Regions from separate parts of the Homo sapiens genome. Here all the other regions are linked to region 1. The links are contacts of gene promoters, found by promoter capture Hi-C in blood cells and fetal thymus (Javierre and others, 2016). All regions are on one chromosome and are shown on one strand. The core of a region is centred on a gene start or on the middle of the fragment in contact, and the rest is flanking DNA. Distances in the headings are between cores, read along the strand shown. Region 1 holds the start of ZBP1 (Z-DNA binding protein 1). Region 2 holds the start of VAPB (VAMP associated protein B and C). Region 3 holds the start of RAB22A (RAB22A, member RAS oncogene family). Region 4 has its middle 36 kb from the start of ANKRD60. Region 5 has its middle 4.4 kb from the start of ANKRD60.

What was found. Contacts are between HindIII fragments. The CHiCAGO score rates a contact against its expected background, and 5 or more counts as called.
Region 2: a contact is called between the fragment with the promoter of VAPB here and the fragment with the promoter of ZBP1 in region 1, in 9 of 17 cell types (neutrophils, total CD4 T cells, M0 macrophages and 6 more). The highest score is 17.5, in neutrophils.
Region 3: a contact is called between the fragment with the promoter of RAB22A here and the fragment with the promoter of ZBP1 in region 1, in 2 of 17 cell types (neutrophils and activated CD4 T cells). The highest score is 7.0, in neutrophils.
Region 4: a fragment that was not itself captured here is called in contact with the fragment with the promoter of ZBP1 in region 1 in 2 of 17 cell types (endothelial precursors and M0 macrophages); the score reaches 10.6 in endothelial precursors.
Region 5: a contact is called between a fragment that was not itself captured here and the fragment with the promoter of ZBP1 in region 1, in 3 of 17 cell types (naive CD4 T cells, monocytes and total CD8 T cells). The highest score is 5.7, in naive CD4 T cells.

The regions. Positions count from the first base shown.
Region 1 is chr20:57,618,702-57,622,211 of GRCh38, forward strand. It overlaps ZBP1 (Z-DNA binding protein 1), which reads right to left and starts at 1,725. Exons shown (of 8, transcript NM_030776.3): 1 at 1,561-1,725. The coding sequence starts at 1,594. RefSeq lists enhancers at 1-137, 315-424, 1,505-1,554, 1,685-1,974. The HindIII fragment of the contact is 9,795 bases long and covers 1-3,510 here.
Region 2 is chr20:58,387,370-58,390,934 of GRCh38, forward strand. It overlaps VAPB (VAMP associated protein B and C), which reads left to right and starts at 1,860. Exons shown (of 6, transcript NM_004738.5): 1 at 1,860-2,148. The coding sequence starts at 2,091. RefSeq lists silencers at 1,569-2,008, 2,269-2,388. The HindIII fragment of the contact is 12,509 bases long and covers 1-3,565 here.
Region 3 is chr20:58,307,939-58,311,581 of GRCh38, forward strand. RAB22A (RAB22A, member RAS oncogene family) reads left to right here and starts at 1,777. Exons shown (of 7, transcript NM_020673.3): 1 at 1,777-2,074; 2 at 3,105-3,184. The coding sequence starts at 2,039. It also overlaps the pseudogene PPP4R1L. RefSeq lists silencers at 1,246-1,805, 1,846-2,175. The HindIII fragment of the contact is 7,008 bases long and covers 1-2,609 here.
Region 4 is chr20:58,191,163-58,195,037 of GRCh38, forward strand. No RefSeq gene overlaps it. Among named protein-coding and RNA genes, the nearest start is that of ANKRD60, 36 kb to the right of the region's middle. The HindIII fragment of the contact is 5,377 bases long and covers 1-3,875 here.
Region 5 is chr20:58,231,199-58,234,937 of GRCh38, forward strand. It overlaps the pseudogene PPP4R1L. Among named protein-coding and RNA genes, the nearest start is that of ANKRD60, 4.4 kb to the left of the region's middle. The HindIII fragment of the contact is 1,659 bases long and covers 1,065-2,723 here.

The DNA.
Region 1 (3,510 bases), core at 475-2,974:
CTCTCAAGTAGCTGAGATTACAGGCACGCACCACTACACCCGGCTGATTTTTGTATTTTTAGTAGAGACAGGGTTTCCCTTTTTGGCCAGGCTGGTGTCAAACTCCTGACCTTGGGTGATCCCCGCAACTCAGCCTCCCAAAGTGCTGGGATTGCAGGCGTGAGCCACTGCGCCTGGCCGCAGTTTTGATTCTGGAAGGCTGACCTTAGGGAGCCACTGCCTCGGCTCCACACACCCCAGAGGAGATGGGGGTCAGAGGTGTGGATGCAGGACAAGCACTGGCCCTGGGCTGGCCTCGACTGCTGAGTCCCAGGCTACTGTGTCTGAAAATGGGAAATTGTAAAATGGAGCAGGTGTAGGCAACAATTTGGTCACAAAAGGAAAATCAACTGGGGAGGAAGACAAGAAAAGCCAGCGAGGGCTGAGTCCGGAACCTGCGTCAGCACCCGTGAGTCCCCGAAGAGGAAGCTCCACAGGACCTCCGCGGTCAGCCCGGCTCCTGGGCCACACCCTGACATTAGCCCTCCCGGGGCACACTCTGTGTTGGTTTTTTAAAATTCTGATGGCTGATTTCCTGGGTTTGAGCTCCTAGCCCTGCCAACTACTAGCTGTGTGACCTCCCCTCCGGCTTCAGGTTCCTCTTCTGTGAAATGGAGACAGTAATAACTACTTCAAAGATTGTGGTGAGGATTAAAAACAAAACAAACACATCCCCCAAACCGCAAAACCACACTTCACCTACAGTCCACAGCGCTTAGTGGAGACCCTAGAGAACAGCAATTACTCGATACACTATTGGCTTTCATTGCAACTCTTCCAGGAATAAAATGAATGAAATGTTAGTTGAGGAAAGGATGCAACAAGGGGGAACAAAGGCACACATGTATCTCATCAAAGCAAACCGCTTTGTTCTCGATATGACTGTGACATGGGTGTTCAGACGCTAACACCAGCGTTCGCCAGCTGTGTTACCCTGAGAGTGTCATTTCACCTCTCAGGGCCTCAGTTATCTATAAAATGGGAATGACATGGCACTTGTCCCTGCAGGCCATCAGGAAATGCTTGGAAAGCATGTTTCGAGGTGCCTGGGGCACAGTCAGCTGTCAAAGGGGGATGGCTATGCTGTCCCTTTCTATTTTTTTTTTTTTTTTCTGAGATGGAATCTCACTCTGTCACCCAGTCTGGAGTGCAATGGCGACATCTCAGCTCACTACAACTTCCACCTCCCGGGTTCAAGCGATTCTCCAGCCTCAGCATCCCGAGTAGCTGGGATCACAGGCATGCGCCACCATGCCCGGTTAATTTTTGTAATTTTAGTAGAGATGGGGTTTCGCCATGTTGGCCAGGCTAGTGTCAAACTCCTGAGCTTAAACAGTCCACCTACCTCGCCTCCCAAAGTGCTGGGATTACAGGCGTGAGCCACCACGCCCAGCTGGTCTACTATTCTTTAGGATACTGCTATTGTCATCATGATCTGGACCAAGCGAAACAGGAGGAAAGAGAAGTAGAAATCTCACCCCGGGAGCTACCGCTGGTCCTTGGAAGGAAGAAGTACTGTACCTTCTCTGCCCGGGTCAGCAGGAGCCTGGGCCATGCTGACAGCAGCTGCAAGGAGTCGGAGAGACTTGGCAGGTGTGCAGGCTTCTGCACTGTGGCCCTGAGAGGGTGGGCTAGGTCGAGGCTGGGGCTTCTGAAGTGGCCGAGCCTGGTGCTTCTTGCAGCTCTGAACCCACAAGGGGAGGGATGCCAGCTTCCACTGGGCAGGTGTCAGCTGCTTACAGCCCGGAAATAGATGCCTAGCCAGGCCGGCCAGATTCGGTTTCAGGAGAAAAAGAAAATGAAACTTCTCTGTTCGTCTTTTGAAAGAAAAAAAAAGTGGAAGCCAGGTGGATGAGCAAGACAGAGTTGGGGACCTGACTTGATGTTGACAGGGAGGAGCTGTAAACTTGGCAAGACCAGAGCGTCCTCCGAAGAGGCCTTTGAGACAGAGGACTTCCCTCACCTTCCCCGTTCCAGGCACAGCCCACCTGGACCTCTACATTTTTATTTTCTGAATCAGCATCAGAGAACTGAAGAAAATAAAAATAAAAAAAAGAGCATGCACCACGTGGAGGGGGATGCCAGGGCGTGGCATCACTCTGATGATGTGAGGGGCTGGGGCTGGTTATCTGGTTTCTGTGTTTTTGTTTGTTTTTGAGACAGGGTTTCTGTCATCCAGGCTGGAGTGCAGTGGCGTGATCACGGCTCACGGCAGCCTCGACCTTCCGGACTCCAGCGATCCTCCCACCTCTCAGCCTCCCTAGTAGCTGGGACCACAGGCCTAGACCACCATGCCCGGCTAATTTTTGTATTTTCTGTAGAGATGGGGTTTCATCGTGTTGCCCAGGCTGGTCTCAAACTCCTGGGCTCAAGCGATCTGCCTGCCTTGGCCTCCCACAGTGCTGGGATTCCAGCCGCAAGCCCCCACGCCCGGCCCCGCTGGTTCCTGTAGTACTTCCTCCTCGGGGACTCACAGGTGCTACAGAGGCACCGTCCCCAGCTCTCAGTGGCTTTTCTTGTCTTCTTCCAGTTTGTTTCCCTTGCCCACACTAGGGGCAGAACATTTAGGTGCGTGAAGGCCCTGAGATTGTTCTTGTGTGTATCCATGTGAGCCTCTTTAATGAACACCTATTATGCGTTTTCCAATCTCAAGTGCTCCTCCAACCCATCTACAGGGTAGGGGCCAGTTCTGTCTTCTTCTCAGGGGGGAAACTGAGGCTAGAAAGGCAAGATCACTTGTCCAAGGCCACACAGAGTCCATGACAGAGCTTGTCCTGTCCATTCCCCAATTGTGTTTCCTGATCTATAACACCCAGAAGTCACTGGTGAATCACCCTTAGTGCACAGATGGCGTGGAGTTCCCCGCCTCATCATAAAACTTGCTTATTAATTCCAGAGTCAGATGCCTGGGGTCAGCAGCCGAGTGGTTCGGAATGCAAGCCTGGGTCAGCATGCTTGGGTCCAAACCTGGCTCCGCCATTTACCGGCTGTGTGACCTCGGACAAATTATTTAACCCCTCTGTGCCTCAGTTTCCCCATGTGTAAAAGGACTTAATCAAAGGACCTAGCGCATGGGGTCGAGGTGAGGACCTAAGGGGCTGATACAGCCCAGCTGTCGGGCTAGAGCCCCAGAGCCATCCGTAGTCACGGGCACCGTGGTCACCTCACAGGAATGCTTCTGGGAGAGGACCCGTTGCTTACATAATTCTCAAAAGGGCCAGTGACCTCAGAAAAACTCAGAGCCACTGTTCTCTTCCAGATCACAGAAGGAGGAACTGAGGCCCACAGAGGTGAATGCTGTGTACAAGGCCCCCCAGCTTTTGGCAGCCAAGGGGGTTGAGAGCTCAGCCCTGGAAGTCCCTGGACTTGGGGTCTGTGTCTCATCTGCAGAGGGCTGGGAGGGCTAGAGACGTCTGTGCTCCTTGCAGACCCCATTTATGCATAAGGAGCAGCTTAGCGGCAAATACAAAT
Region 2 (3,565 bases), core at 610-3,109, 770 kb after region 1:
GAAACCAGCCTGGGCAACATAGTGAGATTTTACAGAAAATAAAAAAATTAGCTGGGCGTGGTGGTGCATGCTTTTAGTCCCAGCTACACCGGAGTCTGAGGTGGGAGGATTGTTTCAGCCTGGGAGATACAGGTTGCAGTGAGCCACGATCATGCCACTGCACTCCAGCATGGGCAACAGAGCAAGACCTCATCTCCAAATAAATAAATAAATAAAATAAAAACAACAAAAGGCAAAAATGAATCCATTTGCAGATGAGCAGAAACTGAGAGGATTTGCACCAACGAAGCTACAAAAAAATAAAATTTAAAGGATTTACCTCAGGCAAAAGGAGAGTGATCCTGTTGGTGAAAGCTGAGATGCAAGAAGAAAAGGTGGATAAAAATGGTAATTGTGTGGCTGAATCTAAACTAATGTTGACTGAATAAAACAATTTAGTAATGTCTCTTGGGGTTACAGTGGCAAAGGTTAAACTTAACATACACTACATTAAGGTGTATAATTTAGAGGATGGGTGATTAAAGTACTCCAAAGTCTTTATATTTTAAGGAAACAGGGTAAAGACATTTTTACAAATATTTAAAGATATTGGACTTTCACAAGGTAAGTATGCATGCCCAAAAGTTTGAAGTAACCACTAAAACTTAGAAATAGAGTATACAGGTGAAGAAAATCAGAATGAGAATAAAAATAAACCCTAAAGAAGAAAGGAAAGGGGAAAAAAACCAGGCAGGACAAATAGAAATAACAAAATACAATGGTAGAAATAATTCCAGATATATCAGTAAATATAATAAATGTAAATGGACTAAATGCTCCAGTTAAAATACAAAGACTATTCTTTTAAAAAACCTTTTTATCATGAAAAATTTCAAGTATACAGCAAAGTGGGAGAAACAGTACAAGAAAACCATATACCTGCGATGTAGAGTCAGCCATTGCTAGCAATTTGCCACATTTGTCTCACCTATATGGGTATGTATAGGAGACTATTAAGAACACCTATTTAACTTCCATAGTAAACATAATATAATGAAATACAATTTAAACGGTAATCATGATGTAGAGTATCCACTTTTGAGGTCAAGCAGATCTGGATTCTCCAGCAATTTTTAATTATTTAACTTACGTGTGTGGTTATTTATTCAAAAGATGTCTCTTCACTAGGCTATAGTAAAAGGATTGGAATCAGGTTCGCTTTTCTGATCATTGTATTTCTAAATATTTGTTGCATAAACAAATAGAATTTACTAGTAAAGAATTCAGCACAGTGCCAGTTGCATAGTAAACATTTAACGTAGAGTAGCTTGTATTTATTGTAGTTGCTGTTGTTATTGGAAGCATTCAGTAGAGTGATACAAAATAAATAAGCAATAATTGGTAGTTTATTATATTTATAATTATTATTTACAAGACGTCACAGTGCCTAGCCCATATCACTCACCCATAAACATTATACTTATACTAAGTACTTTCACTATTATTCAAAGTCTCTAACAGTGCCTGGCACTACATAAGCAAGAGAAAAGTGGAAGTTTATTCTAATTGTTATTATTGAATAAAGCACTTAACACGAAGCTGGCCCCCAGCGGGCCCTTAATAGTTTCCGCGGTGGCTGTCGTAGCTGGACTACAGACCCCGCCTCCTGAGCGGCCCGAAGCCCCGCCCCTTACTGCCCCGCAGTCCCGCCCCCGTGGCTTGTGCCGCGCCTGCGCACTGTCCCGGAAGGGGCTCTACGCGCGCAGCTTTAGTCCCCGCCCCTGGAGCCGGCGGCGCAGGGCGCAGCTTCCCGCCGCCAGAGCGGGCCAGCCTGCTGCGTGCGTGCGTGTGTACGACTCTGCGTGCGTGCGTGCGTGCGTGCGTGCCGTCAGCTCGCCGGGCACCGCGGCCTCGCCCTCGCCCTCCGCCCCTGCGCCTGCACCGCGTAGACCGACCCCCCCCCAGCGCGCCCACCCGGTAGAGGACCCCCGCCCGTGCCCCGACCGGTCCCCGCCTTTTTGTAAAACTTAAAGCGGGCGCAGCATTAACGCTTCCCGCCCCGGTGACCTCTCAGGGGTCTCCCCGCCAAAGGTGCTCCGCCGCTAAGGAACATGGCGAAGGTGGAGCAGGTCCTGAGCCTCGAGCCGCAGCACGAGCTCAAATTCCGAGGTAAGCCCCAGAGGCCGCCACCTTCCTGCCCGCGGCCTCCGCCCCAGTGCTGGAAGGACGGAGCCCGGCGCGGCGGGTGACGTCGGCCCTCGTCCCCACCCCGACGGCGCTGTCGCGGGGGGCGGCGAGGCCGGGCCGGGCCTTGGCGCTCGCCGCGCTCCCCAGAACTGCCCGGAGTGGCCGGGACCCGAGAGGGCTGGTGCGGGAGCCGGGGCCTGCGCCTCCTCCCCGACCCCCAGCCTCCTGGGACTTGCCTTCGAGGCACTTGTCACTTTGTAACTTACCAGTTTGTGATCCTCTCTAGTGTGAGCCTCCGCCGCTGCCTTTGCCTAGAAGTTTCTTCCCCTGCTCCGTGACAGTGTTGACCTCAGGGCTTAGTTGAGGTGTCAGCTGCTCAGAGAGGCCTGCTGTGACCACCCAGCCACCGTGCACACCTGCTGTCATTCCCTATTCCGTCACTGTTTCGTGGTCAGCACGGCACTTTTCATACCCAAAATCACTGTTTCAATACTAGAAGGGAAACTGCATGAGGACAGGCTCTTGTCAGTTCGCTGCTGTGTACCCAGCACACATTATACGCCTAGTAAATAAATACCTGTTGAACCAACAGATGAACATGTTGAACCAACAAATGAACCTCCTCAGGACTTCTGATGGGATTGGGCCCATTTTCCTTTCACTGCGTCCCTCATGCTGTCTCCTGGTTGCGGTGCAAGGAGGCTGCCACGGTGCTGGGATCCTTTTTCTCCGCAGAGCTGTCTGGAGCAACACCTGCGGCGATGGGAAGCCATGACCCTGGTTTCTCCCAGATACTATTACCTCTGTAATTTGTGCCTTTATGTTTTCTATGTTGTTACTTTTGTTTTTTTTTTTTTTTTCCTACCTTCACCAGGGCCACGAGGTAAAAGTTCTTGTCTGACATGCTCATTCTTTCTTTTTGCGTGTATCCAGTGATGTGGGAGGCTCTGGGGAGGTGATGGATGCACAAGACAGATAAGGCCTCTGCTCTCACAGAGCTTACCTTCCGACGAGGACAGACAAACCAACACACAAGATCATTGCAGATAGTGCTAAGTGCTGTGTAGGAAATGGAACAGTCTGACTCCATGGAAGCGTACTTTAGATTGGAAGGCCGGGTCTCCACTATATCGCTAGCACCGGACTCACAGTAGATGCTCAGTTGGTATTTATGAATGAATGAATGGCCAGAGGCTCTCCAGTTTATATGTCCTATTGGGAAGTAGTGTAGGGTAACTTACCCAAAGTTACCCAGTTGGCAAATGGTACATTTGAACCCAGACTTCAGAGTTCACGCTCTTAACCGTTTTGCTGTCTGATCGCTGGGAAATACTCCAGAACGGTGGCTGTCACTTTGCCTTCCAAGTTAACAATGTGAAATAACTCTGAATTTACAGAG
Region 3 (3,643 bases), core at 527-3,026, 690 kb after region 1:
GTGGTGGCTCACGCCAGTAATCCCAACACTTTGGGAGGCCGAGGTGGGCGGATCACGAGGTCAGGAGATCGAGACCATCCTGGCTAACAGAGTGAAACCCCTTCTCTACTAAAAATACAAAAAATTAGCCGGGAGTGGTGGCGGGCGCCTATAGTCCCAGCTACTTGGGAGGCTGAGGCAGGAAAATGGCGTGAACCCAGGAGGTGGAGCTTGCAGTGAGCCGAGATCGTGCCACTGTACTCCAGCCTGGGCTACAGAGCAAGACTACGTCTCAAAAAAAAAAAAAAAAAAAAAAGAGTTTAACGCTGTCTGGTCCATGGTAAGTTTTCAGTAAACACCAACTCTTACTATTAGGAAACCTGAAGATGTGGAATGAAAGATGAGAGGAAGTACTGTATATGACTGGCGTACAGTACGCCCCCAATTAATGTTAGCTATTTGGATGATTTATATAGGGCTTCTTCACCAGCAAGCACTCCGGTGCTCGGTAATTTTCTGTTTACAAGTAGGCTCTCCCCACACCCTGTGAGCTCCCTGCGTGTAGAGCTGTTTTCAACACATCCTTGCAGGTTCGGAGCCCAACACGTGGCCCCCAGAGCAAATAGCTGCTCAGTAAGTTTCTTGACAGGAGAGAAAACGCTTCCTTCCTTCACCAGAAATGCGAACTTGGATTTCTAAGATGACACCTCCCCCAGCTACCAGCCCTTAACATGATTCCAAAAAAGAGGGCAAGAAGGGACAAGGGTCCCACCCAAGAAATGCGGGGGCCAATGGGCTCCATGGGATAAGAGATGGAGCCGGGCTTGTGGCCAGGACACTTGAGAAGTCCGTGCAACTCCGTGACCGGCCACACCGAGAGGGGGACCTCCCAAACCCCCCAGCAGTCCTAAAAAGTCCCTAGGAAAAGGGCAAGGCCCTGAGAGGGAAGTCACCCACCTCCCAGGTGGCGGACCCCCCGCCCGCCCAGGGTCGACTAGGACTTGGGACTACCCCCTCCGCCCATCCCACGGCAGCTGCAGGCGCAGGAAGAAAAGAAGTGACAGGGAGTCCAAAGTTTCCCCAACAACAAAAATCCTTCCCCCGAGGGAAGGGAAGGGCTCCCACCCTCAGCCCGCCCCGCCCAGGGAGGAGGGACCGCCACCAGTGGATCTAGGCAGTTGGGGGTCCCGCTGTTCTGGTCCCGACAAGGAGTGCCTGGCTTGAGGTTCCCCCGCCCCGCGCTTCGTGCACTCTGAATTCTTTGAGAGGGTCCCAGGGAGGGACAGGGGTGCCCCAACTCTTACTTACAGTCGTCTAAGTCATCCTGCAAGTCCACAAAGTACAGGGGGATCTCTGAAAACCAAGAAACACACAAGAAGTTACCAGGGGGCTGCGGCGAGAGGGGACGGGGTCGGGCAGGGGCCCCTCGGCCTCGCGGGGTGGTCACGGGGCGAGAGAGAGAGGGGCACCCCTGGCATCCCCCGAGCCCAGCCCCACTCACCCGCCATCTTGGGATGGGCATGGAGGCGGGACCGGCAGGGGCGGGGCCCTGCAGACAGGGGCGGGGCCCTGCAGACAGGGGCGGGGCCCTGCAGACAGGGGCGGGGCCCTGCAGACAGGGGCGGGGCCCTGCAGACAGGGGCGGGGCCCTGCAGACAGGGGCGGGGCCCTGCAGACAGGGGCGGGGCCCTGCAGACAGGGGCGGGGCCGTCGGCTTCGGGCCCCGCCCCCGATCCGCGCCGGCCGGCCGGCCCCGCCCTCTCAGCGAAGGTGGCTGCCGAGGTGGGCGGGGAGGTCAGGTGACGCGGCCGGCGTCCCAAGATGGCGGCGGCGGCGGCTCCCGGAAGGCCGCGGCGGCGTCCCGGCTGCTAAGGCGGGCCCCACGCGGCTGGCAGCGGACAGGCCGGACCTACGGCCGGAGGACGGGCGGCAGCCGCCTCTGCGCGGACCGGGGCTGGGCCGTGCGGCGGCAGCGGCGCCAGGGGATGCTCTTGCTGGGCCTGGCCTCTCCCTTCTCAACTTAGGGCGGCGGCGGGCCCGCGCCCCTGGCTCCCGGGCCATGGCGCTGAGGGAGCTCAAAGTGTGTCTGCTCGGGGTGAGTGGCGGCGGGTCCGGCCGGGAGGGCCACGGGAGGCTGGGCTGGCGGGGACCCCGGATCCCCCCTGTCCCCTCATCCCTTCCCCCCTCCCACGTCCAAGACGCTGTCTGCCAGCCCCGTGGACCCTCCCTCCAGCTCGGGAGCCGTCCCGCCCACCTCTTGCACTCTCGAAAAGGTCCTGGAGGCCGAAGGGACCCTTCCCCTTCCCCTCCCTGGAGCCCGTGGACTCTTCCCGCCCCACAAAGAGCAAACAGCCCCCCCTTGCCTCTCTATTGCATCTGGGTTAAGAGAGGTTCTTAAATAGTTTTCTCCCAACTTACCAAGGTATTAGTTGGGAGTTGGCCAAGTCTTCCAAAGTAAAACCAATAACAGGTCTTTAGGTTTTACAAGCAGCATTAGCCTACTTTGTCTCTTGGGTGTTTTTGAACTTGTGGGATACCCCTGCCACTTGTCCAAAGAGTTACTTTGCCAAGTAACTCTTCCTGTGGAGAAAAGGGGTGTTCAAATCAGGAAGCCCCAAAGACTAGTTTGAAGCTTCAGCTTCCTGTCTTGTCAGGAAAGACAAGGTGTTGGCCATTTCAAAGCCTTCTTTCTGAAATTGATGCTGTCATTCCAGAGTTTCTGCCTTAAAGATCGGCAGGAACTCCAATAACTAATCTTTATTCCCCCAAATAGGGTGGGGCTAGGATTCATCAGGGATTACTCAGAGGTAACTCAGGAGTTCAAAGTTTACTAACATATGTTAAAAAGCAAGTGGACTTGTTACTTTTTACACGAAGCAGAAACTTTGGGTCTCTCAAAAGGTCCTAATCTGTCTTAACGGCAAAAACCTCTCCCTTTTAGTACAGTTGGAATTTCCTAATTACTCTACTGAATTTTTATGACAACCGCTTTTGTGTTCCTCCGTTTATAAAATTTACACGTCTAGGGTGATTTTTCTAAAATCCTGAACTTATGCCACAAAGTAGTTTTTGGTGTCTGCCAAAAGGTAAACTTTTTCTCAGTCCCTCATCTCGTTCTCTTTCAGGATACAGGTGTAGGTAAATCGAGTATTGTGTGGCGGTTTGTGGAAGACAGTTTTGATCCAAACATCAACCCAACAATAGGGTAAGAGACTTTTATTTGATACACATCTAAAGGTGCATTGAAAATCCTTCCAAATACATAGTGTGTTACAGGTGTAGGCCCTGCGCTTTGTAGTCATTGAATTCTGAGTCGCTGGTTCGCATCATCTCTGGAAGGACTTGAAAGAGTCCAGTGAGGATCTGTGTATTTTAGGAAAATTATCTTCGGACTTGTTGGGGGTGAGAACTTCAAAATGCAAATATGAATTGGAGTTCTACTAATTATTAGAACAGACACAGAAGCTTCGGTCTATAAATATCAACAGCAATTACACCTTGAAATAAGGCAGATGAAAATAGATCCTGGTGCTATTCTTTCAGGCATATCAAGTAAAAGACATTTAAATGGTTTTTGTCCTTCCTGAAAGTAGTAGGTTGAGATCTGAACCCTTACACATTCCTGTACTGGTAGTAATAATAAATTAATAAATTCATATTGAAA
Region 4 (3,875 bases), core at 109-2,608, 570 kb after region 1:
CCGGGCGCGGTGGCTCACGCCTGTAATCCCAGCACTTTGGGAGGCCGAGGCGGGCGGATCGCGAGGTCAGGAGATCGAGACCATCCTGGCTAACACGGTGAAACCCCGTCTGTACTAAAAATATAAAAAATTCGCCGGGCGAGGTGGCGGGCGACTGTAGTCCCAGCTACACGGGAGGCTGAGGCAGGAGAATGGCGTGAACCCGGGAGGCGGAGCTTGCAGTGAGCCGAGATCGCACCACTGCACTCCAGCCTGGGAGACAGAGCGAGACTCCGTCTCAAAAAAAAAAAAAAAAAAAAAAAAAACCCTCCATCCTACAGAGCCACAGGGATTGGTTCTAAGATGTGCATGTGACCCAAACTGGCTAATCAGGGACTTCGCTGAGATTTGATGCCAGGAGAGACTTTCTCCTTCTCTCTGGGGTCTTAAGCTATGAAGACCACATAAGCTAGAGCTCCTGCCTCCATTGTTCCCTGACACATGGAAGGACCTGTCTGCAGGAAAAGAGGAAGACACAGATAAATGCAGAGACAGTGGAGATAAGAGAGAAAGAGAGAGAACAACCTGATTCTATCATCTGACTCCCTGGAGCCCCTAAACCCAGGGGACCATGAACTTTTCAGTGTCTTGAGCCAGCAATGCCCTCTTTGCACTTAAGCCAGTTTGAGCTGATTTTCTGTCAGTTACACCCAGAGATGTCCTGAGTGATACAGAGAATTTCTGTCAGTCATTCACTCACTCGGACAAGAAAGACACAGTCCCTGATCCACAGCCAGCAGAACCGAGCAGAGGTCACAGTCACTAGACAAATAATTGCACAGAGTGTCAGTCAGAGACAGGAGTGACAGGTGCCACAAAGGAGAAGCTGGGGTCTTCAGGGGAGTGTGCAAAGAGGATCCCAATCCCAACTGCAGAACTCAGGGGACCTTCGCCCAGAAAGTGACCATGAGATCCTACAACAGCTCCTTCATTCCTCAGTTTTGCTTTGTAGGATTTTCTTTTTTGAGTTCAAAAGTCTTCACTGATACCACTCTGTGGGTGAAAGAGGATATGCACACGCGCACGCAGACACATGCACACATAAACACGCACACATGCCCAGAAGCACATCCCGGCACACACAGACATGCATGCACCCAGACTCACATGCATGCATGCATTAACACACGGAGATATGCACAGAGACACATGCAGAAACACACCCTGGCACCCAACCACGATTCAGCCATATCTGGATGCATTGGACAAATCGGATTCAAATTCTAGCTCCCCTGAGCTCCCGTGAGCCTCAGGGTCTCTTCCTGTAAAGTGTGGAGATGGCGGTCCCCCTCACAGGTGTGTGAGCACTCAGTGAAGATGGATGTGAGTGAAGGTTTTAGCTCCAAGCTGGTCATGGCGCTAGAAGTCACCCTCATCATTAATGAGGAAAAAGTCATGTCTGTATCCAAGAGAGCAGGTCACATGGGAAATGGCACCCTTCCTAAGCAATCTGTAAGAGTCAGCAGTCGGCCCTGCTGGAGACCCTGACAGCATCACGGGGAAGTTGGGGTCTTGTTCACCCCTCACCTGCAACCCAGGGATGGGGCCGCTGCAGCAGTGCCCAGGGACACCAGCAGAGGGCAGTGGTGGCCAACAGACCCATTTATGAGCACTTGTGTGACCCCCGCTAGAAATGCCTGGGGTGGAGAGGACATGGGGGCTTTTCTGGGATCCCGGGAAAGTAAATGACCAGGACAAGACTGGGTGACATCTAGGCTATCAATGTGGCCCTATTTGTACCCAAAGGTTGGTGCAAAAAGTGCAAAGTGCAGGTCCCATCAGTGACATTCATAATTCTTCCTTGCAGAGGGGGAATAAAACTGGACCTAGAAAGGAATGAGGTTGGGAGTGGGGGTTCAAAGAAACCCCATGAGTGTTCCCCATGCAGGAACAGCATTCCATGCCCGAGGGGGCAGAAGGCGCTCAACAGCCGAAGGAGAGCCACACATGCCGCCAGCCACATGAAAAGACCTTGGCCCCGCTCCTTCTCACCCCTGTCCAGCCCTGACCCTGCCAGACCAGGAGCACAGGCGGAGAAGGTAGCAGAGCAAGGAGGGTGGAAGACAGGCCATCATCCCAATGGCAGGACCCTGGCATCCAGTTGGCCTGGTCTGGGGACCCTCTCCCAGAAGCTGTGAGCTGGACGTGAGCTTTACGTTTTGAGTTCCAGTCACATAGATGTCTTCACAACTGAGTGTGACTGGAGACCTCGGAGTCTGCCCAAGATGTCCCCAGAGGAAGGGGGTATGGCAAGGAAAAGCAAGGCATGTCCTAGCCCAGTCACTGTCTGCGGACACACCCTGCTCCTGTGAGACGTGGGACAGGGTTCCCAGCCAGGCTCTGAATTTCAGAGACTGGGCCTCCCACCACCAGGCCACTAGCCTCTGCTGGGTTACAGTCAGACACAAAGCCAGGAATTAGATTCCTTTGCTGGCCTGGGGGCCCTCGAGCACCCTACCTGAGTCTGTGAGCACCCTGTCCTCTAAGCAGAGCAGAAGCAGAGATGCGTCCCCACCTCGGGGACAAGTCCAGAGGGGAAAGAACTTAGTCCCAGTGCAGTGTGCAGAGCCAGCCCCTCTCCACGCTCCAGGCATGCTACACACATACCTGGAGCCCCTCCCTTCCCATCTCTACCTGGCCAGATTCTTCCCATCCAGTAACGGCCCCTTCCTCCAAAGAACCCTCCTGGACTCCTTCTTTGTGTACTGCTGAACTGCTTCCTAAGTTAGGCTTGGAAATGGCCAATTCTCAATTGCTTTTGCTTAAAATCCTGGAGTTCTCTGGACTCCATTGCAGGCCCTTTTCTCTCCTTGTTGTGCTCCCTTCCTTGGGTCATTGTATCAGTCAGCTACTGCCATCTCATGCTGCCTAACAAACTGCAGGGTCTCGGTGGCAGACAACTGCAAGCACATCTGTAGTTTGTGCACTTATGGGTCACTGAGGGTCAGCTGCTCACAGTGAGGCTGGCTAGGGCAGTCAGCTCCGTGTGCCTCTCAACCTCCTCCTTGGACTAGCGGAAGAGCTGGGGCGGGTTCTTCTCATGGCAATGGCAAAACCACAACAGGAGGAGTGGAAATGTGGGCGGCTCCTTAAGGCCTAGGCTTGGAACAGGAGATTATCTTTCCTGCCTTGTTCTAGAGGCCAAAGCATGTCACATGCCAAAACCCAAGTCACATGACTCCTTAAGGCCTAGGTTTGGAACAGACACATTATCTTTTCTGCCTTGGTCTAGGGGCCAAAGTAAGTCACATGGCAAAACCTAAAGTCAAGAAGCTGGAAAATATACACCACTCTGTCCATGGGAGAAAACGGCAGAGTTACCAAAGGGTGTGGACACAGGGAGAAGACAGATTGCTGGAGCCAGCCATCTCCTCCAGACCCGTGATGGTGACTCCCCAGCTGTGCCTCTAGCCCAGGCCTGTCTCCAGAGCCTCACGTTCATCTGGCTGATTCCCTACAGAACACAGCAGTGCAACACTCTGTTCATCCCAATACCAAAACATTTGGAAATGGCCAAATAATTAGTCAGCAGCTGGTTAAATTAATTATAGTTTGTGTGCACAATAAAATTGTTGAAAACAATTTTTTTAAAGAATATTCATGTAAAAAGATGTGCACCATAAAAATTGTAGCATAGAATGTATAGTATAATCTCATTTAGATAGATAGATAGACAGAGAGACAGACAGACAGACAGACAGACAGAAAACAGCCTGGAAAGGTATGGACTGTATCAGTTAGGAAGCTCTTGGCTAGAAATAACAAAGAATCCACTAATGTGACTTTAAAAATTAAGAGTTTGTCTTCTCACATCAGAAAAAGGTGAGTGGCAGCTG
Region 5 (3,739 bases), core at 644-3,143, 610 kb after region 1:
AAAGTGCAGCATAGATTTAAATGATGTATTTGTTCAGCTCACTGATAGGGGGCAAATACTACATTAATATATTTTCTTCCTGTCAAGAGTTATTTACATATGTACAGTATTTCAGTTAAAAATATAACACCATAAACTATATTTTATAGGAAATCATAAGGGAAGGAAATATGCAGGTCTATTAAAGACTTAAGAGCTTCTAATAAACTACTTTACTTGGAGAGGGTTGGGGGGACTTCAGATCATACAGTCTGCCATGGAGAAAAGAACTTGCTGGCAGACAGCCTGATGGTTCAGAGGCTCCAGTGCCCAGTTAGCCACCTGGTCTGCAATCTTTCCACAGACTTACTGATCAGGCTTGATCAGGATGGCCCAGCCATCCAGAAAAAGCCCCCATCAGGTTCAGTCCCTTCGGGGTACAGATGGAAAAGGCGTCAATCACTGAGTGCACAGTATGAAAGGTTCCAAAATCTCCCCCAGCTGGTATAATACAATCAGTTCCCCTTCAAGTTATGGTAAGCCATATGTGCCAAGCATGAAATAATCAGATTGCAACTCATCACGGAAGTAGTTAATTCTGTTTTTCTAGTACAGCAGTGTCTATGATATTCCGCCGCTTTGGTTCTAGGGCTGCAAAAAAGGAAACATCTTGGTCCCGGTCTGACTGCAATGCTAAGATGGTCTCTTCAATGACTTCAAGATGAGGGTTACCAGCATTTCTAAAATACGCTAAAGAGAGAAACCATGAGTCTGAATCAGGTAAGCCATGAACAGTGTTCAAAACACACTCGGTTTTGTTTTTTGTTAGCCACATGTCAGGACAATAAATCAAAGAGTATTTCTAAAATGTTAAAGATGGACTCCCAACAGTTATGCATATTTTTAAAATTATAGTAACTATCTTTTTTCCCTGCAATACAAAAGAAATGGCAATGTGCAGAGCAGGAGCAGGTTGTAGGTAGGGTGGGGCAGGGGGTGAGGTGGCAAGAAATGTACATGTAGGGCAGAGTTCAAGATATTTTCCTATATGTGTGGTGTAGAAATAAACTATCCAAGAAACACAAAGCTTTTATTGAGTCCTGTCCAGGTGTAAATAATCCACTAGTTGGGTTACAAATCTTTTCTAACTGACCACAAAATAATACCATTAAAACATAATAGCAGTTAAGGCTTACGTTTGCTACCTTTCATAATCTTTCATGTCATAACTCAAAATTTATCAATTTCCCTCATTTCTGGAAAGCTATGTAATAATTTACATTTTAGCATATGTTTATTAAGTATGAAGACCAAATTACATTCATTTCCTTGGTCGTTTTATAAATAACATAAAATGATGCATCAAAGTTAACATAATCATTTACATAATAAACCTTACGCGTGCTGTCACACAACCTGCCTCAGTTTCCTAGAGGAAATCTAGTTGTGGCCTTTAACAACTGGTGGAGTCTACCCGAAATGTGTAAGTTCTGAAAAGTGCTCCACCTACCCTTTTCCAACAGCATCTGCCTTAGGGCCTTGGCTAGCAGAACCCTCACGTTGGGCACAGGATCTGATGCGAGGCTCAGGAGGCTGGGAAGCAGGTGCTCCATGAACTGGTCCACGGGGACACACTCCTTGCTCACCACTGCCTGCTCCAAGAAAGTCACAGCCAAAGAAATGATGTTTTCCGCAGTCTTCTAGAAACATACACTTCTTTAATCCCAAAGAAGTCATTTCAGAATCTGTAGGTTTGAGGCGTGTGTATGAATTTTTAAATCTCAAGCACTGATTTGGTTAGAAACACAGTTAATATTTTATTATAATTCACTACCAAGCAGTGGGTTCCAAGTAGGTTAAGATCTGGTGAGCTTAGGAGTCAGAAGTCTAGATTCAAAACCTAACTTGGTCTTAGTAGCTATGTGACTTCTGGTTAAGCGGCTTAGCCTTTCTGAGCCTCAGTTTCCTCATCTGTATGATGACAGGTCTGTTATGCAAAACATCTAGGACAATACCACCACACTGCATACAGCTGACCGGTAAGGAAGGGTCAAGAACCTCATTTCTGTCATTCACAGCGGCCGTGGCTGTCAAGTGACAGTCAAATCCCAAACCATAACCCAATGCCCAGACCTCTATAAACAATCCGTAAATGCCAGTCCTGTAGTCATACCCAGCAAGTGCATATAACTTCTCCAGTTACACGACTTTACATGTATTCTCTCACTTAATTCTCAGGACTAGCCCTGGAATTCAAAATCAGCCTAGTTTTACAGGTTAAAAAAAAACTCATTTCCAATGTGGTGGTGACACCCAAAGGTCTCATAACCACCAGTGGCAGCGGGGGGGTCTGCGAGCCCAAGTGTAGGTTCTAACTCCTGTGGCAGCAGGGTGGGGACTGTGAGCCGAAGTGTGGGTTCTAACTCCTGTGGCTCTTCTATGCCCGGGTAATTGGTGTCGTGGTGGATGGGTGCTGTGGCGGTGGCTGCTGGTGTTCCCTAGGTGCCAGGCGCCATGCTGGGTAGCTCAGCTTTATCAGCCCACGGAAGCCCATGACAACACTAGAAGGCAGGCACATATTCCTAGGCTCCTTTAAGCAGTGTACATGGCACCCAATGTGTAGCCTTTTACCCCTCACCCCCTCCCACCCTTCCCCCGCAGTCCCAAGAGTCCTTTTGTTTATTTCAGACTTTCTAAATCTCAGATAAAGAATTTAAAAATAAAAGCAAAAACTATTTCCTTTAAGCTTTCTCCACAAATTGATTTGGAACATTGACTCTTCCTTCACAAAAGTCTGTGCCGTCTGTGAGTTTGTGAGTCTGTGAGTTTGTTGTTCACTCTGCCATCCACTGCCCTTCTCAGAGTGGGCTGCCAAAGCACTCCTGTAATGTCCCACTGGTCCAAGAGGGGGCGCTGGTGAGTCCTCTGGTGCCCGTGGTCATCAGGGAGAGAAAGGGGGCTTTGCGGTCTGGGGTCAGGTACGGTCCCAACCACGGCTTCACTGTACTATCAACAAAGCTGGGTGGTGGGTTCACAGAGGTTCATTACAGCAATCCCTCTACCTTTGTATATGCTTGAAAACGTGTGTAATGAAAGTTAAAATGTTTAAAACAATACTTTAGCAGAAAAAAAAAAATCATCGGCTTACACTTCCTGTGTGATCTTGAACAAGTGACCTAACCTCTCTGGGCTTCAAATGTTTCACCTAAAAGAGCTGGTCTAAAGGTAAATGGGTATGCCATGCTCAATACACATTACCTCTTGGTTTTTTTTTTTCTTCCCTGAGATGGAGTCTCACTCTGTTGCCCAGGCTGAAGTGCAGTGATGCAATCTCAGCTCACTGCAACCTCCGCCTCCCGAGTTCAAGCGATTCTCCTGCCTCAGCCTCCCAAGTAGCTGGGATTAAAGGTGCCCGCCATGACACATTACTTTTTATTAGAGAATTAAATGTGTGATGTGATACCTGGCACACAAGAGGTATTCAAGAAATGGCAGCCATTATCACTGCCATTGCTCCTAGGCAAACATAAATCACACCCTCATTTCCAAGAGGCTGAGTAGAGAGGGCGATCTGAGGAGCTGGACAGGATGATACGAACTCTACACATTTACTCTAAAGAGGTTAAAGTCTCTGCCCTAACCCACTGCCCAATTCTTCATCCTGCCTTCCTTCCAAAGCCACTGGCTAAGGTGAGGTGTAGTGGTGGACACAGACCTGTATAGGAAAGGAGTGGACTGTGGGCCTGGCCCTTATCTTACT